Regions from separate parts of the Homo sapiens genome. Here all the other regions are linked to region 5. Evidence: promoter capture Hi-C in 16 types of primary human blood cells and fetal thymus (Javierre and others, 2016). All regions are on one chromosome and are shown on one strand. Each heading gives the region's core, a stretch centred on a gene start or on the middle of the fragment in contact. The rest is flanking DNA. Distances are from core to core; before and after follow the strand shown.

Region 1 (4,602 bases), core at 1,676-4,175, 370 kb before region 5:
TCAACATAAGGAAACACAGAAATTCTTAACAGACTTTATTTAAGTCAGGAGAGGAAATAGCAAAGAACCGTCTAAAGGTGACCGTGTTTTGTGTCACCCCCACAGATACAAAGGGCCATTGTCTCATTAGCCACCTTTTGAGGGCATCTCACTTCACTTTGAGTGAAATTGGAACTACTCACTCTGGCTTACAAAGCACTCATGCCCAAGCCCTGCCCACTCTCCCAGCCTCCCCTGCCCTCCCTTCTGCCTGGAGATCTTCTGGCCCTGCTTCAGTCAGGTGTCACCTCCCTTGGGGACCCTTCCTTCACCTCCCTAAGGAGTAAGCCCTCTCTCCTCCTGCCACATGTGAAACAAGTGTCCCTCTAAGCCATGATTTTCTTGTATTTCAATGAAGATCATGAAATTACCATTTTTTGGCTGGGCACAGTGACTCACACCTGTAATCCCAGCATTTCGGGAGGCCAAGGCAGATGGATCACCTGAGGTCAGGAGTTCAAGACCAGCCTGGCCAACATGGTGGAACCCCATCTCTACCAAAAATACAAAAAAAAAAAATTAGCCAGACATTGTGGTGCACGCCTGTAATCCCAGCTACTCAGGAGGCTGAGGCAAGATAATCACTTGAACCCGGGAGGGAGAGGTTGTAGTGAGCTGAGATCACACTACTGTACTCCAGTCTGGGCGACAGAACAAGACTCCATGAAAAAAAAGAAAGAAAGAAAGAAAGAAAGAAAGAAAGAAAGAAAGAAAGAAAGAAAGAAAGAAAGAAAGAAAGAAAGAAAGAAAGAAGGAAGGAAGGAAGGAAGGAAGGAAGGAAGGAAGGAAGGAAGGAAGGAAAGAAAGAAAGAAAAAAGAAAGGAAGGAAGGAAGGAAGGAAGGAGGAAGGAAGGAAGGAAGGAAGGAGGAAGGAAGGAAGGAAGGAAGGAAGGAAGGAAAGGAAGGAAGGAAGGAAGGGAAAGAAAGAAAGAAGGAGAAAGAAAGAAAGAAGGAGAAAGAAAGAGAGAGAGAAAGAAAAGAGAGAAAGAGAAAGAAAGAAAGAAAAGAAAGAAACATTTTTGTCCAAAAACATGTCATCAATTTCATATGCTTTAACCCAATATCATAACAGTTAAATAACAGCCACCCTCTCCCCACACTCCCTCATGCCTGTTCTGGGGCCATTCCTCTGAGGCTGTCAGGACAGTAAAAGAGAAAAGCTTTAGACCTAGGCAGAGCTGGGATTAACTCCTAGCTCCATTCCTTCCCAGCTGTATGACCTCAGGCAACTGGTATGATCTATCTAAGCCTAGGTTTCCTCATAAGTGAAATTCATGTAAATACCAAGGACTGGTGTGAGGATTAGAGAGGATGTATGTTCAGGCCAGGCTAGTGTTTACTGTGTTTGCAAAGTATGAGGGACAGGCACTGGGCATCCTCCCTCTGAGGAAGCAGCCACCAAAATGTCACCTGCACACACCTTGGCAGCAAGTGCTCCTGGTGCCCTGACCTGAACCAAAGGCACCGTGTCAGGGGCTGTGTTCACCTGTCAAACATCCAGCCAGCAGCACTGGTATCACTTTCTCTGGCCACTAGAGCCCACTCTCCTCACACTCAGGGCAGGCCAGAAGTGGTAGGAAATTAACACACTCTCCCCACCAAGAGCAGCCCTCATCCAATAGCTAAGTGGAATCGGTGTCTATGCGCTCCAGCCTTCTCCCCTGGGTGGGGTGATACTGAGGTGCGTGTTCTGCACTGCCTCCGAGAACTGCCCAGTGGGGTGAAGCTCCAGGAACTCACAGCAGCTTCTCTGTGGGTGATACACCTGTTATTGGCAGCCTTCCCTTCCTCGGTATTTCCTGGAGCCATCTCTTTATTTTATTTTATTTTATTTATTTTTTTTTTTTTAAGATGGAGTCCTGCTCTGTCGCCCAGGCTGGAGTGCAGTGATGCAATCATATCTCACTGCAACCTCTACCTCCCAGGTTAAAGCAATTCTCCTTCCTCAGCCTCCCAAGTAGCTGAGATTACAGTTGCCTGCCACCATGCATGGCTAATTTTTTTGTATTTTTAGTAGAGACGGGGTTTCACCAAGTTCGACAGGCTGGTCTCAAACTCCTGAGATCAGGTGATCCACCAGCCTCGGCCTCCCAAAGTTCTGGGATTACAGAGGCGTGAGCCACTGTGCCCGACCTTTATTTTATTATTTTGTTTATTTTTGAGACAGGATCTCACTCTGTCACCCAGGCTGGAGTGCAGTGGTGCGATCATGGCTCACTGCAGTCTAGACCTTCTGGGCTCAAGTAATCCTCCTGCATCAGCCTCCGGAGTAGCTGTGACTACAGGCATGTAACACCAGGCCTGGCTAAATTTTTTTAATTTTTCGTGGACACAGGTTCTCACTATGTTGCCCAGGCTAGTCTCGAACTCCTGAGCTCAAGCAATCTTCACACCTTCACCTCCCAAAATGCTGGGATTTCAGGTGTGAGCCACCATGCCTGGCCTGCCACCTCTTAAATACGCTTGTTTCACCCAAATTCTTGGGTTTGCTTCTGGGAGAACCCAAACTTCCAGGAACATATCCTATAAATTATCCTTACATATATGCAAAAATGACATATATTTGATTTATTAACTCAGCATTGATGCAATAACAAGAGAATGAAAATAGTATATCAAAAGAAGACTGGTTAAATACATTATGGTACACTCACACAATGGAATACTATGCAGCGGTATAAAAGAATGAAAAAGTAATTTATGTCTTAATATGAACCGATGTCTGAGAAATATTGGTGAAAAAAAGCAAGATACAGACCAATATAAAGTATGCTACCATTTGTGTAAAAAAGCTTGTGTGTGTGTATGTGTGGTGTGTGTGCACACGTGCATACACTTGCACATCGCCTGGAATCTGTCTGAAGGAAACCTCAAAACACAATCTTGACTACCTTTAAGGAGGTGACTTGAATATCTGGAAAGGGAGACTTTTCACTGTACACTTGAATGCCTTGTGATTTTTGTACCATAGACAAGCTTATCCATCCAAAAAATTAAAGTCACATTGAAATAATAAATGAATCCAGAAAGGAAGCTTCATCATTCCTCAGTGGGCATCTTTATTGGGCATCAGCGCTGGTGTGGAGGAGGTTCCTGGTTCCACCCACGGCTTCTCATGGAGTCTCCATCCAAGCTGCGCAGGCTCCAGCAGGCCGCAGGCTCGCAGGCGACGGGAAGTCCCACTTCTTTCAGTGGAGAGAAGCTGCTGTGTTTCCCTCTGTCTTCACCCACAGGATTGACCGTCCCCTCTCCCGGAGGAAAACCCAGCAGCGGCTTCACCCACGCACAAGGGAGCCCAGGCAGTTCCCTTCTGCCGGAGAGGCTACGCTGCCGTCACCTACCCACACGCCAGAGACATCTGAGTCACACACGTGAGCCACACGCCCCTGAGCACACACATGCACACACTCGCACACATGCACACACTTGCACACACATGGACACACGCACACACACTTGGACACACTCACATACTTGCACACACTCACACATGGGCGTGCAAGTGCACATGCACGCACACGCACACATGTGCACACACTTGCACACAGACACTTGCACACACGCACATACACACTTGCACACACACAAATGGAAGCCCAAGCCCGTCCTGTCGGGGATACTTCGCTGTCCGACGTGTCCAGCAGCCTGGGGGCTACGTGTGGTCTGGGCAGAGTCCTGCTGGCCACCGAGAGGCAGCTCTGTCGGGAAGGAGCCGCTACTGGGGTTCGGCCCCCGGGGGACCCCCTTCACTCATCATGTCCTTGTATTGCCGCTTGAAGAAGCCGAGCTGCGGGGCAGAGGAGGGCAGTGAGAGCGACAGCAGCCAGGGAGCGTGCGGCTCCGCAGACCAGGGGGAGGGGGCGGGAGGGCCGGCAGAGACAGAAGGGACCCAGGAGGGCGGGGCGGGAGGGGAGTGACATCCGCGTCGGGGCCTGGAGAAAAACAGAAACTACAAGGAGGGCGACTCGTTCTCAGCGCGCCCCGCGCATGAACCCGGCCACCCTCCCTAAGAGACTGAGGCGCAGAGAGGCTCCCAGACTCGCCCCAGTCACACAGCTGGCAGCCCCGCCGGGGAAACCGAGGCACGGAGCTGCAGCGCGAGGCCCGAGAGGATGAAGGGAGGGGGTGGGGGAGCAGCGGGGAGCACCTTGTACAGCGCGGCGGTGATGAGGGCCAGGAGCAGCAGTCCCCCGACAGAGCTGCCCACGATGAGCGGCAGGGGGTTGGGGACCTCGAACGGCTCCACTTTGGTCTCCGTCTGGGGGAGGAAGGAGGGGCGTCAGGGGAGACGACTCTGGATTTCTGGGGGTTCCCCATTCACACCGTGTGCACCCCTGAATCAAGTGGGGAACCCCTCCTCATGTCCCCCAGAACCCCAGCCCTCAGTCCTCCTCCCCCACCTCTTCTCCCTCCTCTCCCTCCTCCGTTTCTCTGTCCTCTATCTCTCTCTATCGCTTTCTGCCTCTCTCTGTCTCTCTATCTCCATGGCTCACTGTCTCTGTCTCTGTCGCGCTCTGTATCTCTCTCTTTATCTCTATCTCTCTGTCTATCTCCATCTCTCAC
Region 2 (5,337 bases), core at 139-2,638, 440 kb before region 5:
TCCAGCCTGGGTAACAGAGCTGGAGTAAAAATAAAAATAAAAATAATCAGGAATTTCAAGAGGTCAAGGGCAGAACATTAAACTCCAAAGTTAATGAGTGTGGGCCCTGTGTGACCATACTGGCCCCAAGAAGTGGGCCCTGCCTGGGAGGCAGGTTCAAGGCTTCCCTCCCGAGGTAAGGTAGGGTCTTGTCTAGAGTTTTGTGGCCTTTCCTGGGATTGAGAATAATAGGTGCTGATGTCAGGGCCTCCAAGGAGCCAAGGGAAGACTTCTCACCCCTGCTGGCCTTCCTCCAGGACACCTCCCTGGGGTAACCCACGTGTACCCATCCACAGGACTTGATGTAGTGGAGGTTGGGGAAGGAGGGTGAGTGGGGCCTACCGAGATCCACCGAACTGCACCACGCTCTGCCCAAAGCCGCCTGCATCCTCCTGGAAGATCGTAGGCTCCTCCACATCCAGGTTGAATCCATGATAAGAAGCCAGGACTGAGGAATATTTGGTGGGCGGGGAGGCTGGGAGTTAAAGAAGCCCCAATCCCTAGGACCTCCCAGCCTCTTTTTCTTTTTTTTCTTTTTTTTTTTTTTTTTTTTGAGATGGAGTCTCGCTCTGTTGCTGAGGCTGGAGTGCAACGGCACGATCTCAGCTCACTGCAACTTCCGTCTCCTGGGTTCAAGCGATTCTCTTGCCTCAGCTTCCCAAGTAGCTGGGATTACAAGTGCACGCCACCATGCCCGGCTAATTTTTATATTTTTGGTAAAGATGGGGTTTCACCATGTTGGCCAGGCTGGTCACAAACTCCTGACCTCAGGGGATACGCCCATCTCGGCCTCCCAAAGTGCTGGGATTATAAGCATGAGCCACCGCACCCAGCCAAGCCTGATTTTTGATGGCACGTGAATGTGACTCTGATGCAGTTTTCAGCAGGGGGCCTCTTCCCTACGTGCAGTCAGGACTTGGGGGAAACAGGCCCAGGGAGGTGATGTCCAACCTTTCCCCCTCCCTGGTGGCTTCTGTGGCCTTCCACTCCCGGGGGAGGCTGGGGAGACCTCTGTCACCCACACCAGGGACTCCATGAGTGGGAGCAGGGAAGCCTGGGACAACATAGCCAGCTGGAGAGGTAGCTTAGTCGCCACCTGAGCACAGCCCCTGAGCCCCTCTTCATTCAGGTCACACTCTACTGACTCCGGGCCACTCGCACATGAAGCACTCCCCTGCCTCAGCTCCTCATAAGAGTGGTTGGAGCCGACCACCAGCCCCCAGCCTGCCCTCCCAGATGGAGTCCCCTCAGAACTCCTCCAAGCTTCTCCCCAGCACCCTGGCCCCACTTACCACTCAGAAGAAGCACAGTGCCGAAGGTCATCCCTGAGCAGCGCGTTGAGGGGAAGTGGAAGGTTGGGGACAGAGCACAGAAGGTGCTCACCCTCCCAGGGGGTAGTTAAAATAATGATTCAGGGCCTCCACACAGCAGGAAGAGGGGCACAGTGGGTAGGAGGGGCGTGGTTAATTATGGAACAGAAGTGGGGGCAGGGGCCAACAACACCCTGGGGAAAAACCCTCATTCTGTCCCCCTCCACAACCTGCAGGGACCTGGCTTCCTTCTCCCAGAAGACCACCCTCCCCCAGGCCTCAGGAGCCAGTTGGTACCCAGGGAGCCCCGTAGCTCTCTGAGGTCCCACAGGAGTGGAAGGACAGGAAGCAGAATGGCTGCAGAGGTCTTGGCATGTGGATGTGAGCCGGCAGAGAGGCAGGGAGAAGGGGAGCTAGGCCAGGGTGTGGTTTCAAAAAGCAGAGCCCCTCCAGAGGAGAATGGACACCCAAAATAATAAAGTCATGCCATGGGCTACTACTCAGCAAGAAATAAGATCAAACTACAGATCAGATGCCATGGCTCATGCCTGTGGTCCCAGAGCTTGGCAGGTGGATTGCTTGAGGCCAACAGTTCGAGACCAGCCTAGGCAACATAGCCAGACCCTGTCTTTACAATAAATAACAAAGAACAAACTGCAGTTCTGTACAACAATACAGGTTAACTCAATTTTATCTTAAGTGAAAGAAACCAGACACCAGAATGCCTAATGTCTGGTTCCTTTCATATACAAGAGAATGGGCAAAATTCATCTACGAAGATAGAAATCAGAAGAGTGGTTGTCTATGGTGGGGCAGAGAGGAAACTTTTTTTTTTTTTGACAAGTTTTGCTATGTCGCCCATGCTGGAATGCAGTGGCATGATCAGGGCTCACTGCAGCCTCAAATTCCCAGACTCAAGCAATTCTCCCACCTCAGCCTCCCAGTCACTGGGATTACTGATGCACACCACCATGCCCAGCTAATTTTTTTGTTTTTTGTAGAGACGAGATCGCACTATGTTGCCCATGCTGGTCTCGAGCTCCTGGACTCAAGCAATCCTCCCACCTCCTCCTCCCAAAGTACTGGGATTACAGGCGTGAGCCACCACATCCAGCCAGGAACCTTTAGCATGTGTTAAATTTAGCATTTAACACAATATTTTAATATTTATTACATGGGGTTGGGGAGAAGATAAATGAGTGGTTGTTATTTATTTTCTGTGATTTTTCTGTATGTTTGAAATATTCCATGATTAAACATAAAAGTTCCTTTAAAATGTGAAAAAGAAAAAGGTCTATATATAAAAGGCTAGGAATAGGCCAGGCGCAGTGGCTCACACCTATAATCCCAGCACTTTGAGAGGCTGAGGTGGATGGATCACCTGAGGTCAGGAGTTTGAGACCAGCTCTGGCCAATATGGTGAAACCCCGTCTCTACTAAAAATACAAAAATTAGCTGGGCATGGTGGTGCGCACCTGTAATCCCAGCTACTCAGGAGGCTGAGGCAGGAGAATCGCTTGAACCCAGGAGGTAGAGTTTGCAGTGAGTCAAGATTGCGCCACTGCACTCCAGCCTGGGCGACAGAGCAAGACTGTCTCAATAAATAAAAAATAAAAAATAAATAAAAAGCTTAGGAATATACTTTGAAGGTTAAAATATAACAAGATCCCTACCTATAACATAAATTATTTTGTATATATATGTGACAATTATTTAAAACATTTGGCTGGGCACAGTGGCTTATGTCTGTAATTCCAGCACTTTGGGAGGCTGAGGCAGGTGTATAGCTTGAGGTCAGGAGTTCGGGACCAGCCTGGCCAACATGGTGAAACCCCATCTCTACTAAAAATACAAAGATTAGCCAGGCATGGTGGTGCACGCCTGTAATCCCAGCTACTCAGGAAGCTGAGGCAGGAGAATCGCTTAAACCCAGGAGGCAGAGGTTGCAGTGAGTCAAGATCACACCACTGCATTCCAGCGTGGGCAACAGAGCAAGACTCTGTCTCAAAAACAAAACAAAATGAAACAAACAAAACATTTAAAATGTAATTAAACATCAAGTGCAAATAATATGAAATAGTTTTCTATACAAAAATTTTACATCAATTTACTTGAGAGCTGACATTTAATGGACAGAAGAAATTAATTGTGATGCATTAACGATGCCCTTGCAGGAAACCGAGCCGAGGGCTGTGATTGCTAACTTCGAGGCTGACTTATCTACTGCCTTACAAAGACTGCCCAGGCAAAGTGGAGCGGCAGCCTTCTCCCTCTTGTGCTGAAAGGTTTGTGGCTGGCCGCACCCTGTCATCAGTTCTGTGGATCTGTGAACTTCTCCCTGTATTTGGAACCACAAAATAATTTGTTGGTGATTCTTCATAATTCAGAAATTTAAAGAGCTCTTCATTTTCTCCATCTTCACCACACCTCATCTTTTACACATTTCTATATCCCCTTTAATTTTGGACTTCCTTCTGTAAGTAGTGCTTGAAACTCACGATTTGCTGATATCAGCAACTATAAAATTCTCCAACTTTCCCTAACTCGTATTATCGCTTGTCTCAGCAAAATTTTTTGTTTTCCACTCATGTTTGGAGAGCAATGATAAGGGCAAAATGCAGTAAGGTAGTCAAATGCTCACAATCACTGCACGCTGCCAGGAAATCATCTTTCTCCCAGGCCTGGAGCTGGAGCTGCCAAGGCTCAGAGTCCACAGCAGCTGAAGGTGATGCCCCCAAATTCAGGGCATCCTCTGGGGACTTGATGGCGGCTCCACCCTTAAAGGAACCACCAGCTCTCAGTAAATTTTTAATTAATTAATCAATTAATTTTTATTTTGAGATGGAGTCCTGCTCTGTCGCCCAGGCTGGAGTGCAGTGGTGCAATCTCAGCTCATTGCAACCTCTGCCTCCCAGGTTCAAGTGATTCTCCTGTCTGAGCCTCCCGAGTAGCTGGGATTACAGGCACACACCACCACACCTGACTAATTTTTGTATTTTTAGTAGAGACGGGGTTTTGCCATATTGGCCAGGCTGGTCTCGAACTCCTGACCATAGGTGATCCACCTGCCTTGACTTCCCAAAGTACTGGATTACAGCAGTGAGCCACCGTGCCCGTCTTCTCTCAGTAAGTTTTAAAAAGTTACACTTAGATAAATAAGAAAACAAGAATTTAATAATTGTTTTCAAATCAATGTGAAGGAGAATATTTTTGCAGCCTTTCTCCAGAATGAGCTGTGTCTGCCTGGAGAGCATAACTCCAGGTCCCCATGCCTTAGAGGCCACAGCCAGGATTTGGTTTTGTTTCTCCTGGTCTTCCCCTCCTCCCAGGAAATTTGGCTTTATTCTTCACATGCATTCATAATTCTCTCTCTCCAAATCACTTTTTCCCCCGCATGAGAAAAATACATCCATAGTAATGTGTTCAAATTGCTGGCTTCCAATTCTCCCCTTTTCCATTTGGGGTATGGATTAGATGCCCTGGAATATTTGCATTGAATTTTACCTATTCATCTACTTTGATCATCATAATGATCGCTGAGGGAAGCCAGGCTGTCAATAGACACATCTAAAATACAAAGTTGATGAGAAGGATAGAGTTTGCAAATGAAAGTAATTAAATGCATTAGTCAAAAGCAGAGAGAAAGAAAACCTAGCCAATAGTTCATCAGATAGAAAAGGTTTTTCTTAATAGAAGGATATCATGAAACTGACAGTTAAAGTAGAATTAATTTTTGTTGTTGTTGTTGTTAAGAGACAGAGTCTGGCACTGTTGCCCAAGCTAGAGGGCAGTGGCGTGACCATAGCTCACTGCAGCCTCGGACTCCTGGGCTCAAGTGATCCTCCCACCTCTGGTTTTTTTGTTGTTGTTGTTTGTTTGTTTGTTTGTTTTCTACAGATGGAGTCTCACTATGTTGCCCAGGTTGATCTCGAACTCTTGGGTTCAAGCAATCCTCTGGCCTCCTAAAGCACTGGAATTACAGGTATGA
Region 3 (5,120 bases), core at 2,303-4,802, 420 kb before region 5:
GACTCTGAGAAGTTGAGGTATTTGGTGAATTGTTCGTGGCTGGAGAGAGAAGACGCATAAGTGGATGTGAACTACCATGGGGCATCTGCAGAAGGCATTGGCTAGAGCATGAGAGGACAGGTGGTCGGTGGGGCCTTGGAATGTCCTGGAATGAGGGCTGTGGCTGAGTTAGGTTATAAGAGAGTTTAGAGGCCAGGCGCGGTGGCTCAGGCCTGTAATCCCAGCACTTTGAGATGCTGAGATGGGCGGATCACCTGAGATCAGGAGTTCGAGATCACCCTGGCCAACATGGTGAAACCCTGTCTCTACTAAAAATACAAAAATTAGCCAGGCATGATGGTGTGCACCTGTAATCCCAGCTACTCAGGAGGCTGAGACAGGAGAATTGTTTGAGCCCAGGGGACAGAGGTTGCAGTGAGCCCAGATCACGCCACTGAATGACAGAGCAAGACTCTCTCTCTCTCAAAAAAAAACAGAGAGAGAGAGTTTAGAGACCAGGCACAGTGCTCACGCCTATAATCCCAGCACTTTGACAGGCTGAGACAGGCAGATCACCTGAGGTCGGGAGTTCAAGACCAGCCTGGCCAACATGGAGAAACACCATCTCTACTAAAAATACAAAAATTAGCCAGGTGTGGTGGCAGGTGCCTGTAATCCCAGCTACTTGGGAGGCTGAGGCACGAGAATTGCTTGGAGCCAGGAGGCGGAGGTTGCAGTGAGCAGAGATGGTACAACTGCACTCCAGCCTGGGCAACACAGTGAGACTTGGTCTCAAAAAAAAAAAAAAAGAGAGAGAGTCTAGAAAAGCAGGGCTGGGCTTCAAACAAGTGCTAATTGGCTGAGTGCAGTGGCTCACACCTGCAATCCCAGCACTTTGGGAGGTTGAGGTGGGAGGATCACTTGAGGCCAGGATTCAAGATCAGCCTGGGCAACATAGCAAGACCCCATCTCTCCAAAACAATTTTTTAAATTAGCCAGGCATGGTGGCACACATCTGTAGTCTCAACTACTTGGGAGGCTGAGGTGGGAGGCTCGCTTGAGCCCAAGAGGAGTTCAAGGCTGCTGTGAGCTGTGATCACACCACTGCACTCCAGCCTGGGCAACAGAGCAAGACCTGGGCTTTAAAAAAAAAAAAATGAGGCAAAGAGCTCATAGCTGCCTGCAGAGGAGGCTGCCAGTGGGGCCGGGTAGTCGGTACAATGAACGGAGCAGAGAGCTCTGCCACTGACTGCAGGAGAGCAGGGGCCATGGCCTGCCCCTCCGCTTTCCTTCCATCCCTTTGTGGGGATGTAGGATGCCAGGGCTCTGTGGGACACAGCACAGAGTTGGGGTGGCCCAGGCTGACGCTGTTGACCAAATGCTACTGAGCATTGCCCCTTCCCAGTCCCCCACATACCTCCCCGGGGGCCCTTTTTTCCCATTTCCTTGGCTTTTCCGGGCCTGGGGCTTGGAGGGGAGGGAGGGCCCACAGCAGACTCTTCATGAGGTCTCAGTTTAACACCTCCTGAGCCCTTTTTGGGCACAAGCCTGGAGACCTGGTGGGCAGCTGGGACCATCACACAGGTGGCCAGTCTCACCACTGCCTCACTGCTTCACTCTTCCGGCACCTGTCCTCCAGCTGGCATAGTCCAAACACCAGCCCACCACGCCTACTCTGAAGCCTCATTCCTCCTCTGCCAATTTTTTGTAGAGCTAGGGTCTCACTATATTGCCCAGGCTGATCCTGAACTCCTGGCCTCAAGCAATCCTCCCACCTTGGCCTCCCCCAGAAATGCCCCAACCTGGCACTCCCTGTGCCCTAACCCACAGAGTCACACCTGCCATGTGTGGCCAAGCTGTGGATCACACCTGCCATGTGTGGCCAAGCTGTGGACCACACATGCCTAGAGTAGGTGAGCCCTGCCTGTGGGTCCCCTGCCAAGGGGTATGAGAGCCTGGGGCACACCCCAGCACACGAGCTCAGAGCGTGCACCTGGCTGGGAGCCTCCACGCATGCAGGTGCAGGTGAGAGTGGGAAACACCAGGCACAGGAGAACATCCAGCAAGGCACACCCCACAAGGGCGAGGGTTCATGTCTGGTTTTGATCACACATAATGGGGGCTCAGTAAATCTTCAATGAATGTCAAATGAATGTATGGAAAATAACCACAGCACCCTGCCTGGCACACAGCAAATTCGAGGAAGGCATTGGCTGAAGGAAGGTGTCTGCTGAAACACCTGACCTTTTAGTTTCAAACACCTTATCTCACCCTCTGTGGCAGCGTTTCAAGGCCTTTTTTTTTTTTTCTTTTTGAGGTCAGAGAGAAGAACCCTTTTTCCTGCAGTGGGGTACCTGCTGACCTGCTAACCACAGTGTAGACAGCATACTTCACCGGGAGCTCCAGCTGGAAGGTGGTCTTGCTGGTCCTGGGAGTGTTGTTCTCACTGGAGAAAGAGGAGAGACTCAGTTGCCAGAGGCCCCAGAGGAGGAGAATGGGGTGTGAGGCTGGAGATGAGGGGCACTGCCCCTGGCCTGGCCCGGCTCACCTGCTCACATTGGCTGTCAGAAGCAGCCGGTCTCCCAGGACAGCCTTGGGGGAGACGTCAAAGGTAGCCAAGAAGGTGATCTGAGGAAAAGGAACTGAGAGGTCACAGAGCAGTAAAGACAGGGTGGGGCAGGGGAGCAGTGAGGGGACAGAAGCCAGGCTGACCTGGGCGCCGCCACGGAAGATGAGGTGGTTGATTCTGCAGCTGGTGCTCCAGGTGCCCTGGCTCCCAACTGGGGCGCTGTCACATGTCAGGTGCAGGGAACGCAGCTGCCCTTGTTTCTAGGCATGAGAAAAAGTAGAGGAGTATTAGTTGAAATTGAAAGCAATGGCAAAAACCCAATTACTTTTGCACCAACCTAATATAACAGCATTCCAAAGACACGCCACGAAGTAGTGATAAAGCTTCCTGGAGCCCACCTTAAGCTTATGTTTTTGTTTGTTTGTTTGTTTTTTGAGACCAGGTCTCACTCTGTCACCCAGGCTAGAAAGCAGTGATGCAATCACAGCTCACTGCAGCCTCAAACTCTGGCCTCAAGCCATCCTCTTGCCTCAGCCTCCTGAGTAGCTAGGACTACAGGCACACACCACCACCATGCCTGGCTAATTTTAAAAAAATTTTTTTATAAATGGGACCTCGCTATATTGCCCAGGCTGGTCTTGAACTCCTGGCCTCAAGCAATCCTCCCATCTTGTCCCCCCAAAACACTAGGATTACAGGTATGAGCCACCATGTCCAGCCAAGGTTACGTTTTTAAAAGCTCCCCCATAGCTATCTGGTCAAACTTTCTTCCAAAGTAGAAATCTCAAATGTATTAAAATGTTCACCTTTTTATTGTTATTTTAAAGGCCTCTTATAATGGAAAATTTAAAACACATTAAAAAATAGAGAGACTGGAAAATCAACCCCATATAACCATCACTCATTTTAAGTAACCAACATTTTTCTACTCTTGTTTCTGCTATGTTCTCTTTCTGAACACTTTAAAGCACATTCCAAACACCATATTGTTTCATCTAGAAATACTTCAGTGTATACCACCAATAGATAAGGGTATTTTAAATGTAACCACAAGAACCAACAAATCACAGCCAACAAAATTAACAATTACTCCTTAATATACCAATATACTGGTCATGTTCTATTTTCTTAGATTGTCTCCAAAAATGTTATTTTACAGCTCATTTGTTAAAATCAATATTCAGCAAAGGTCCACCCATTACATTTGGTTGATATGTCTAGGAGCACTTTCATTGACAGTGATCACCCCTCACATGCAAGAGATGGCCTTTCCTGCTGTGTTCTTTTATACGTTAATCAAAATGCGCTTCCGCTGGGAATATTAGACTAAGAGAGACAGCAGAAATAACAACCAACCATCATGTATGGACCTAGTTCGAATTTTCGTTCAAATAGACCAGAAGTAAAAAGATATTTTTGAGACAGTTACACAATTTTGACTATGATCTTAATACCAAGGAATCACTTATTTCATTGGGTGTGATAATGGTGTTGAGGTCATATAAGAGGTCCTCATTGTTCAGAACTATAGAGTGTGTCTTTGTCTGTTCCCTGCTGCTATAACAGATTACCGCAAACTAGGTAATGTATCAATAGAAGCTTTGTGGTTCTGGAGGCTGGGAAGTCCAAGAACATGGCACCAGCATCTGGTGAGGGCCTTTGTGCTGCATGTGCAAGGCAGTGCATGTGAGAGTGAGAGGGAAAGGGGGCCAAACTCATCCTTTAATTAGAAACCCACTCCTGGGCTAGGCTCCGTGGCTTACGCCTGTAATCCTAGTACTTTGGGAGGCCGAATCGGGTGGATCATTTGAGGTCAGGAGTTCAAGACCAGACTGCCCAACATGGTGAAACCCCATCTCTACTAAAAATGCAAAACTTAGCTGGGCGTGGCAGTGGGCACCTGTAATCCCAGCTACTCAGGAGGCTGAGGCACAAGAATTGCTTGAATTCGGGAGGCAGAGGCTGCAGTGAGCCAAGATCGTGCCACTGCACCCTAGCCTGGGCAACAGAGCAAGACCCTCTCAAGGAAAGAAAGAAAGAAGGAAAAGAAAGAAAGAAAAAGAAAGAAGAAAGGAAGGAAGGAAACCCACTCCTGAAATAACTAATCTACTCTTGAGATAATAGTATTCATCCATTCATGAGGGCAAAGCCCTCATAACCTAATCACCTTTAAAAGGTTTCACCTTTCAACACTGTTGCATTGGGGATTAAGTGTCCAACACACGAACATTGGGTGATGCATTCAAACCATAGCAGAGTGAATAAGGAGGAGTACAATGACCCCCATGTCTGAGATTTGTTTTAAAATACTTTAGCAGGTCAGGCACAGTGGCTCATGTCTGTAACTCCAACACTTTGGGAAGCTAAGATAGGAGGACTGCTTGAACCCAGGGGTTAGAGACCAGTTTGGGCAGCATGGTAAGACCCCAACTCTACAAAAAAAATTAAAAAATTAGCCAGGTGTGGTGGTGTGTGCATGTGGTTCTAGCTACTCAGGAGGCTGAGATGGGAGGATCGCTTGAGCCCAGGAGGTCAAGGCTACAGTAAGCTGAAATTGTGCCACTGCACTCCA
Region 4 (5,008 bases), core at 1,681-4,180, 340 kb before region 5:
CTGTGAGAACTTATCTGGCAGCTGTGGGCACACTGAATTAGGAGAAAGATCAACAAAGAGGCTACTGTCATGACAAGGACAGTGACCAGGTCTCACCTGGCTATGGGAGGGGCTGATGCCAGATCCTGAGGTTCCGTGAAACAGGTAAACAGCACCCCGGTTGTCCTCCTCTCCTGGGGCCCCAATGGCCACGTCCGTCAGCTTGTCCCCATTTACGTCCCCCAGCACTGTTAGGGCTGCCCCAAAGCGGCCCCAGGGTTGGCCCTGCTCCCCGTAGAGAACAGCATCACACTGCCACCGAGCCCTCTGCTAAACACAAACAGTATCAGGCCCCAACCCAGGCGACCCCTCCACCCACACCGGGCCCCACCCAGCCCAGGTCCCATTGCCACTCACCCCCCTGGGCAAGGGGCACACGGACACCTGGCCCCCTCGGGTCTGCTCGTAGTAATGGGGGGCCCCGATGAGGACCAGGTCGGTGCTGCCGTTGCTGTCCACGTCCACGGAGCAGAGGGAGGCCCCGAAGTAGGCGCCGATCTGAAAGAGACAGGACCGTAATCACACACCTCTTCCCACCTAAAGCAGATGTGGAGGTTTTCTCTCTCTGAAGAAAAGTTATGCCTGCTGGGGGAATCCCTCTGGAGCAGATGTGATCTTCTATATGGTTCATGATAAATTATCACTTGAATGTGCTGCCAGCTAAAGGAACCTATATAATAAGCCTGGCAGAATGGTTTCTGCCTGTAATCCCAGCTCCTCGGGGGGCTGAAGTGGGAGGATCCCTTGAGCCAAGGAGTTTAAGGCTGCAGTGAGCTTTGTCACCACTGCACTCCAGCTTGGGCAACAGAGCAAGATCCCAATCTCTAAGTGTATATATATATTTTTTAATAATTTAAAAGATAAAAAATAAGCCTATAGTAGAGTCAATGGGCAGTGAGTGAGGATTTACTCCAGGTGGTATTCCTGGGAGATTATTAAGGCAGCAAAGAAGAATTTGGGTTGGAAAATACATAGAAAATTCTAGAAGAGAAGACAGAATACCACCCTTTCAATATATTGGGAATCTTTAGGGAGGTAAAAAGTCAAAGTTGGCACTCTGACTAATAAGGCTAATAACTGGCTTAGATTAAAAATAACTATTTGTTATTTGAATATTTGTTGTGATATTAAGAAATATCTTCAAGGTCAATATGTAGAATTCATCCATAAAATTCACCTATTTAATCATACATTCATTCATTCATTTATTCATTCATTCAACAAACAAGTGTTTCTTATTGCTAAGCACACAGCTGGGTAATAGAGATACAGTGCCTTCCAGGGCCCTCAGTGCAGCCAGGTGGAGGAGAGGAGAGTAATCAATGGATTAACAGGGAGATGTGTATAGCAATTTCAAACTGGGACAAGTTCTAGAAAGGGAATGTGCAGGGGACATCATGCCACGGCTCTGCAACGTGATTTCTGCCTCATACACCATTGAGGGAAGACTCATTGATAACTGAATACTTTATCCTAAAGTCAACAGAATTTGATTGTTTTTTAGGTCAGATTTATTGGGGAAGAGTTTACATACAATAAAATTCAGCCTTTTAGTACATAGTTTTATGAGTTTTGACAAACATATAAAGTCATATAACCGGCCAGATGCAGTGGCTCATGCCTGTAATCCCAGCATTTTGGGAGGCCAGGGCGTGTGGATCACCTGAGGTCAGGAGTTCGAGACCAACCTGGAAATCATGGTGAAACCCCATCTCTACTAAAAATACAAAAAAAAAAAAATTAGCAGGGCATGGTGGCGGGCGCCTATAGTCCCAGCTACTCAAGAGGCTGAGGCAGGAGAATGGCGTGAACCTGGGAGGTGGAGCTTGCAGTGAGCCGAGATAACGCCACTGCACTCCAGCCTGGGCAACACAGAGAGACTCTGTTAAAAAAAAAAAAAAAAAAGATAAAAAGATAATAACCATGATCAAGTGTGATTTATCCCTGGGATGCGAGATGCAAGGATGATTCCACATATGCAAATCAATTAATGTGGCATATCACATTAACAGAATGAAGGACTAAAACCACATGATCATCTCAATATACGCAAAAAAAAGCATTTGACAAAATTCAACATTCTTTTATAATAAAAACTCTCAATAAATTCGCTACAGAAGGAATGTACCTCAATATGATAAAGGCCATATACGACAAGCCCACAACAAACATCATACTCAATGGTGAAAAATTGAAAGCTTTACCACTAAAATGAGGAAAAAGGCAAGAATGCTCACTCTCACTACTTCTATGTAACATAGTACTGGAAGTCCTGGTCACAGCAATTAGGCAAGAAAAATAAATGAAAGAGACCCAAATCAGATATAAAAAAGGAAATTTGTCTCTGTTTACACTTAAAATGATATATATATAAAAACATATATATATAAATATATTTTTAAAAAACCCTAAAAACTCCACCAAAAAAGAACTACTAGAACTAATGAATAAATTCAGTAAAGTTACAGGTTACAAAATCAATGTGAAAAATCAATAGTGCTTCTATACACTAACAATGAACTATCTGAAAAAGAAATCAAGAAACAATCTCATTTACAATAGCATCAAAAAAAATACCTAAGCTTAAATTTAACCAGAGAGGTGAAAAACATGTACACTAAAACTATAAAACATTGATTAAGGAAGTTAAACAAGACAAAAATAAATGGAAAGATATCCTATGTTCATGGACTGGAGTATTAATGCAATCTTCTGATTCAGTACAATCCTTATCAAAATCCCAATGGCATTTTTTTACAAAAATAGAAAAAAAACTAAAATTTATGTAGAACCACAGAAGACCCTAAATAGCCAAAGCAATCCTCAAGAAAAAAAATACTGGAGGCATCATAATTCCTGATCTCAAAACATACTGTGTCAAGAAAGCTCTAGTAAGCATAACAGCAAGGTGGTGGCATAAAAACAGACACATCAACCAATGGAACAGAACAGGGAGGCTAGAAATAAAACTATGCATTTATGGTCAATTGATCTTCAATAAAGGTGCCAAGAATATGCAAAGGAGAAAGGACATTCTCTTCAACAAATGGTGTGGGGAGAACTGGATATTCATATTCAAAAGGATTAAATTAGACCTTTATCCCAAACCATATACAAAATCAACTCAAAATGGATTAAAGACTTAAACACAAGACCTGAAACTGTAAAACTACTAGAAGAAAACAAAGGGAAAAGCTTCTTGACAATCAAGCTTCTGAGAAATGATTTTTTGGATATGACCCCAAAAGCACAGGCAACAAAAGCAAACCAGACAAATGGGGTGGCATCAAACTAAAAAGTGTCAGCTTAACAAAAAAAGAAAATTTCAGGCCAATATTCTTGATGAACACTAATGCAAAAATCCTCAACACACTACCTGCAAACCAAATCCAGCAGCACATCAAAAATCTAATCCACCATGATCAGGTAGGCTTCATTCCCGGGGTGCAAAGTTGGTTCAACATATGCAAATCAATAAATATGATTCATCACATAAACAGAACTAAAGACAAAAACCACATGATTATCTCAATAGATGAAGAGAAGGCTTTAATAAAAGTCAACACCCCTTTATGTTAAAAATTCTCAATAAACTAGGTATTGAAGGAACATACCTCAAAATAATAAGAGCCATCTACAACAAACCCACAGCCAACATCATACTTGATGGGCAAAAGCATTCCCCTTGAAAGCCAGCACAAAACAAGGATGCCTTTGCTCACTAGTCCTATTCAACATATTATTGGAAGTTCTAGCCAGAGCAATCAGGCAAAAGAAAGAAAAAAGGGCATACAAATAGGAAGAAAGGAAGTAAAAAAGTCAAACTATCCCTGTTTGCAGACAACATGATTCTATATTTAGAAAACCCCATAGTCTTGGCCTAGGAGCTCCTTCAGCTGATAAATAACTTCAACAAAGTTTCAGGATACGAAATCAATGTACAAAAATCACTAGCACTCCTATACACCAACAAGAGCTGGGAGCCAAATCAGGAAGGCAATCCTATTCACGATTGCCACAAAAAGAATAAAATAACTAGGAATACAGCTAACCAGAGAGTTGAAAGATCTGTACAGTGAGAATTGTAAAACACTGTTCAAAGAAATCAGAGATGACACCAAAAAAATGGTAAAACATCTCATGCTCATGGATAGGAAGAATCAATATCATTAAAATGGACACACTTCCCAAAGCAATTTATAGATTCAGTGCTATTACTATTAAGCTACCAATGACATTCTTCACAGAACTAGGAAAAACTATTTTAAAATTCATATGGAATCAAAAAAGAACCTGAATAACCAAGTCAATCCTAAGCAAAAAGAACACAGAAGGAGGCATCACATTACCTGACTTCAAACTATACTACAGGGCTACAGTAACCAAAACAGCATGATACTGGTACAAAAACAGGCACATAGACCAATGGAACAGAATAGAGAGCCCAGAAATAAGGCCATACACCTATGACCATCTGATCTAAGACAAAAATAAGCAATGGGGAAAAGAATTCCTATTCAACAAATGGTGCTAGGATAACTGGCTAGCCATATGCAGAAGATTGAAACTGGACCCCTTCCTTACACCATATACAAAAATCAACTCAAGATAGACTAAAGACTTAAATGTAAAACCCAAAACTATAAGAACCCTGGAAGACAACCTAGGCAATACCATTCTAGACACAGGAATAAGCAAAGATTTCCTGACAAAGACACAAAAAGCAATCTCAACAAAAGCAAAAATTGACAAATGGCATCTAATTAAATGCAAGAGCAAAAGAAACTATCAACAGAGTGAACAGACAACCTAAAGAATGAGAGAAAATATTCACAAACTATGCATCCAACAAAGGTGTAATATCCAACATCTACAGGGTACTTAAACAAATTTACAAGAGAAAAACAACGCCATTAAAAGGTGGGAAAAGGAAATGAACAGACACTTTTCGAAAGAAGACATGCATGCA
Region 5 (4,793 bases), core at 2,013-4,512:
ATCCCAACACTTTGGGAGGATGAGGTGGACGGATCACCAGAAGTCAGGAGTTCAAGACCAGCCTGTCCAACATGATAAAACCCTGTCTCTACTAAAAATACAAAAAAAAAAATTTAGCTGGATGTGATGGTGGGCACCTGTAATCCCAGCTACTCAGGAGGGTGAGGCAGGAGAATCACTTGAACCTGGCAGGCAGAGGTTGCACTAAGCCGAGATCACACCACTGCACTCCAGCCTGGGCAACACAGCGAGACTCCGTCTCAAAAAAAAAAAAAAAAAAAAAAAGAAAGAAAGAAAGAAATGTACACACTGAGGAATAAATATACGTGGAGAGAACGAGCTACAGGGCGATGATTTCCTAGCTCAGCCTTTACTAGGTAACTACCATGAACGAGGCACTGGAAATACAGAGATAGAAAGGAAGAGATTCCCATACAGAAAAGCAGCATGACATGCACATACAAACACAACACGACCCAGTGGCAGCTGACGCATACATGGTGTTCTGGAGCCCAGGGAAGGAAACTTTTGTACAGAGTATGATCAGGGAAGAATTCATAAAGATGGTGTCATTCTTACTGAGATTTGGGGATTAACAATTCATCAAATGACAAGGACCCCTGGAACATGGAAATATAAAACAACTTGGTGTTTTTGAAAAACCGCAAAGCGTTATGGTGTGGATGTAACACAGGGGTGTGGTGTCAAGGCGGAGGATAAGGCTTGGCCAGGTCAATAACCATACATGTCAGTGTCCCAAAACATGGACTTGGCAACAAAAGGAAAACAGCAGCGTAGTGAAGCCAAAGAGACAAATGACAGCAAGGCAGAGGAGAAACTGAGGCAAGAACGAAGGCAAGGAGACCAGGTGAAATGAATACCAAGGTCTACATTAAGTGGCAATGAGAATAGAAAGATGAAGAATAAAAAAGAAAAGAGCCAGGAGGATTCGGTGACCAACTGAGAGAGAAAAGGAGAGAATCACAGGCTGCCAGGCTGTACAGCTGAGTCGATGGTACTGCCACATATGAGTAGAGGGAAAATGAAAAAGGTAGGTTAAGGAGGTAGATAATTTGTTTTAAATCCCTTAAATCTGAAACATGTGTGGCCTCCAAATGAAACTGTCCCCCTACCAGGCATACAAGCCTAGAGATGTTGGCTGGAAACAGATACTTGGAAGTCATCAACATTTAGGTAATAGTTGAAGCTGTGGGTGTGAAAGAGATTGTCCAAGTGAAGTGTACAAAGTAAAAAAAAAAAAAAGAAGAAGAAGAATGAAGGGACCCCACAAACAATTTATTTAGAAAGGAAGAATAAAGAATCAGAGAAGGAAATGAAGAACCACCAGTGTTCCAGGCCCAGTTCAAGGCCTGAAGAATATCTTGTCTAGGGTGGAGAATAGGAGTCCTCGAAGGAAACAAGAGGGAAATGACATCGCCAAATGAGAGGCGGGGAATAGTGCTACCCAGGTAGGCAGTGGCCTTGTCACTCCCCTTGACTGTCAAGGAACTGGGAGATCCCACTCTTGTGTGCTATGATGCACTGTCTACGAATATACAGTGATAGGTATAGCAGCTAAAGAGTCTTTACCTCACCCTTCAAGAAGTCGACACCCCAGCCACCAGGGATACACTTAGGACACCTGACCTGCACCTTTCTGGAAGATTAAGTGTACCTCCTATCCAAAACAACTGAGTCTCACAGCCTCAGAGGTTGCTAGATCTGGCTGAGATCCTTTCATTGGAAACCCTTTTATTCAGCTATAGTGCCAAGACGCATCCTCCACACCCTCTTAGGACTACCACACCAGGAGCCCAGCAGACACTTACCTTAAACTTAGGGACTGGGAGGGAAAAGTCTCTGTTTTTGGACCTGACATGGCAACGGGGGTCTTGGAGGTCTTCGACTGGTATATACTTTGAGTCCTAGGAAGGAAAGCAGCAGCAGAAAGAGAGCTCAGGGTGAATCCAGGCTAGGGAGCTCCAAGCAGCCCATCTGGACACACACATGCAGAAGAGCTGGGTCCAACTGCCCACTTTCAAGAAGGCAGGCTACCGTTCTAGGTGCTGAACAGAATCACAGAGGACGGGCGCCTGGAGCTCCCCGGATGGCAACCAAAGACCCGGGCACTCACGTTGACACTGAAGTGGACTCCATCATAGCGGTACACCTTCTGAGAAGGCCTGCGCAGGGCAGGGTCCAAGGCAGGATCCACGATGAGCTTGTAGTTCCGCCACTGGAAGCTCGGGGCCTTCTGCCCATCTCCCCCACCTTCCTGATCCATCTTTGCTCATTTACACTGTTAGGGGAAGAGGGACACGCAAGAAGGATCAGGACTTGGGGCCTGACTCCCCTGCCTTTCCTCATTGGCTAGCCCCGATTCCAGGTTCTCCCATCACTCCAGTTTCCAACCCTCACCCTGACCCGGGGCTCCCCCGGATTCTCCCCCAAGTACCCTCTGTTTCGCCACAACAACCCAGCCTCTTTCCACCTCCCAACTCTACTGTCAGGCCCCCAGGCCCGTCTCGAGCCCCCTTACCTTCCCGCTCTCCCTAGCGCGCGCCCCACTTGGCCTCGGAGCAAGACCCCTCCCCCGCCCCCTGCAGGCCCCGCCCCCTCCCGCCTCCTCACCGGCCAGCGGCCCGGGCCGAGCCCGGCCACGGCTCCCACACACCCGCTCTCCTCCCCGCGCCCCGATCCTCCGGCCGAAAGGTGGCACCTCTTCGGGGCGTTGGAAACACCGCGAGACCGAGCCCGAGACCCGGCTTCGACCCCGAATCCGGGCGGGGGGGTGGGGGGAACGTGCACCGCTGCCCTCTCCTCCCGCCCCGGCGCGTTCTGCACCCCCCCCAGCAGGTCTCCGCGCACGCGCGCCGCGCGGCCCCACTCACCCGCTCCCGGCGAGCGGCTCCCCCTCCCCCCACCTCGCGCGGCACCTCAGCGGCGCGAGGCGGCGGCAGCGGCAGCGCGAGACCCGGCCCCGCAGCGGTGGCGGCGGCGGCGCCCCCCCACCACCACCTCCCCGGCGCGCGCACCAAACACCACTGCCACCTGCGCGAGGCCCAGCGGGCACAGGGTCTGCATTCGCACTTTCGCCACAGGCGCTGCCGGGGGACCCACGGGGCCGAGGGTAGCGGCTTCGCCTCGGCCGGCGCCCTGGGAGGCTCGGAAGTTGCGGCCCAGGGAGCTTGGAGATTGGCCGCATCCCCCGGAGAGTCGGCTTCGCCACGACGATCTAGATGCTGCGGCCCGGGACCTTGACGAATCGGCGGCGACGAAAGCTGCGACTAGTCCCTGAGGAAAAGGGGCGGGGCGGAGGGGAGGAGGCCAGCCAGCGCTGGGGAACCTTCAGTGGCGCGTTCTGCAGACGCAGATTCACCGGGCGGGCGGGGCGAATCGCTGGACAGGATGCGCGCCGCTTTGCTTCTCTTCCCCGTCCCTTCCTTGCACTGCCAAATTCTGAGAGGCTGCAGATTCGCCACTGTTCCCGGCCTCAGCCGTAGCCTCCCCTTCATCCGCCTTGGTGGAGTCAAGAAAATAACGGCCCGTTAGCCAATCCCTGCTGGCAGAGTCGACAACTTTTTTTGGATTTTTCTTACTGGCCCAAGTGAGAGAATAGCCCGCTTCTGTCCCTGGGGAAAATGCCTCCAGCCCAGCGCTCCTCTCAGAGTCCGATGAGAATTTTCAGCCGAGTATCGAGGGACCCGAGGAATTCTGAGGATCCGACCTGGCGAATCTGCGGATTCCGCTGTGGGCGGGGCCGAGTCAAGGGGCGGGGCCAGGGCGTGCAGAGCCTGGGACTAGGGGGCGCCTCCGGGAGGACCCACGAGGACTCACCCGGATGGGAGGGACGGCCGGGAGGTGGAAAAACACAACCGTGAGCGGTGACTCAGGCGGTTTGCCCCGCCTCGCACATAAATGCAGGGTACCTTTCCTTCCCGTTATTGCCCTTGGGTGTCTGGCTGCTTAGGATGCCCATTTGCCAGATGGGGAGAGTGAGGCCTGTAGAAGGTGCCCTACTTTGCCGTACTCAAACCCACCATTAGTGGTTAAATCCAGGGACCGCCTCAAGGTTTTCTGATGAGCCTAGTGGGGCCTAAGTGCCCTTAAATGGGCCTTGTAATAATAAACGAGGTCCTACAGGAACGGGACTGGACTGGTGTGTCCTCCTGGCGTCATGGTCCCACTGCCCGCTTCTTTGGCTATGGCGCCCTATGCTCACGGGATGCCTCCGCACAAGGGCAGCAGCGGCCCAGGCCTACCCCTGGAACTCGGGCTGAGGTTTCTGAAGGCTGGGCACCGTTTTGATCCCGTGTGGGCGCAGGCACTCCCAGGAGGTCCCTTTTCCTGAGCTGAGGATGCCCCAAGCTCCTGATATGTGTACATCAGGCCCTCGCTATATGGCCTTGGGCAAGTCATTGACCTAAGTTTCAGAGTCTTCCTTTAAACTTGGATGTCAATTTGTACACATCCGAACAGTGCAGAAAAGACCCTTAGAGCCTGGTTTATGCAAATTCACCATTTTAAGTAATAGGAAAAGGTGGAAGGGAGACTTATCCAAGGTCTCACACCACAAGATAGAAGAAGATTAGGACTCTACAATTTTGAGGGAAATAAGGCTGAAAAAAATAATTTACGTGGAGGCATAGGTGTTGAGATCAGATTCCTTTCTGTTCCAGTTGAAAGGCACTGGTTCCTTTTCTCAAATCAAAGAGAGATTCCCGTGTGAGGGGTAGATAGTCCAAGTTCAGTTTCATGGACTAGCTGTGTGGTTTTGGGCAAGATCTTCAGCC

Evidence for each region. The method cuts DNA at HindIII sites, captures the fragments that hold promoters and counts their contacts. A CHiCAGO score of 5 or more calls a contact.
Region 1: a contact is called between a fragment that was not itself captured here and the fragment with the promoter of SETD1A in region 5, in 2 of 17 cell types (naive B cells and total B cells). The highest score is 5.4, in naive B cells.
Region 2: a contact is called between the fragment with the promoter of ITGAD here and the fragment with the promoter of SETD1A in region 5, in 1 of 17 cell types (neutrophils). The highest score is 5.4, in neutrophils.
Region 3: a contact is called between a fragment that was not itself captured here and the fragment with the promoter of SETD1A in region 5, in 2 of 17 cell types (monocytes and total CD8 T cells). The highest score is 11.2, in monocytes.
Region 4: a fragment that was not itself captured here is called in contact with the fragment with the promoter of SETD1A in region 5 in 1 of 17 cell types (monocytes); the score reaches 5.2 in monocytes.

What each region holds. Positions count from the first base shown.
Region 1 is chr16:31,330,860-31,335,461 of GRCh38, reverse strand. ITGAM (integrin subunit alpha M) reads right to left here. Exons shown (of 30, transcript NM_000632.4): 29 at 4,187-4,297; 30 at 2,585-3,826. The coding sequence ends at 3,755. Among named protein-coding and RNA genes, the nearest start is that of ITGAX, 22 kb to the left of the region's middle. RefSeq lists a silencer at 3,905-3,984. The HindIII fragment of the contact is 184 bases long and covers 2,834-3,017 here.
Region 2 is chr16:31,389,386-31,394,722 of GRCh38, reverse strand. It overlaps ITGAD (integrin subunit alpha D), which reads right to left and starts at 1,388. Exons shown (of 30, transcript NM_005353.3): 1 at 1,332-1,388; 2 at 382-487. The coding sequence starts at 1,362. The HindIII fragment of the contact is 1,676 bases long and covers 1,305-2,980 here.
Region 3 is chr16:31,374,487-31,379,606 of GRCh38, reverse strand. ITGAX (integrin subunit alpha X) reads right to left here. Exons shown (of 30, transcript NM_000887.5): 21 at 2,692-2,808; 22 at 2,528-2,607; 23 at 2,342-2,425; 24 at 1-39. Among named protein-coding and RNA genes, the nearest start is that of ITGAD, 16 kb to the left of the region's middle. The HindIII fragment of the contact is 1,195 bases long and covers 2,955-4,149 here.
Region 4 is chr16:31,293,043-31,298,050 of GRCh38, reverse strand. It overlaps ITGAM (integrin subunit alpha M), which reads right to left. Exons shown (of 30, transcript NM_000632.4): 13 at 397-537; 14 at 97-306. Among named protein-coding and RNA genes, the nearest start is that of ITGAM, 36 kb to the right of the region's middle. The HindIII fragment of the contact is 613 bases long and covers 2,624-3,236 here.
Region 5 is chr16:30,956,223-30,961,015 of GRCh38, reverse strand. It overlaps SETD1A (SET domain containing 1A, histone lysine methyltransferase), which reads right to left and starts at 3,262. Exons shown (of 19, transcript NM_014712.3): 1 at 3,052-3,262; 2 at 2,135-2,299; 3 at 1,830-1,925. The coding sequence starts at 2,284. RefSeq lists silencers at 2,554-2,643, 2,784-3,003 and enhancers at 3,604-3,733, 3,191-3,954. The HindIII fragment of the contact is 14,721 bases long and covers 1-4,793 here.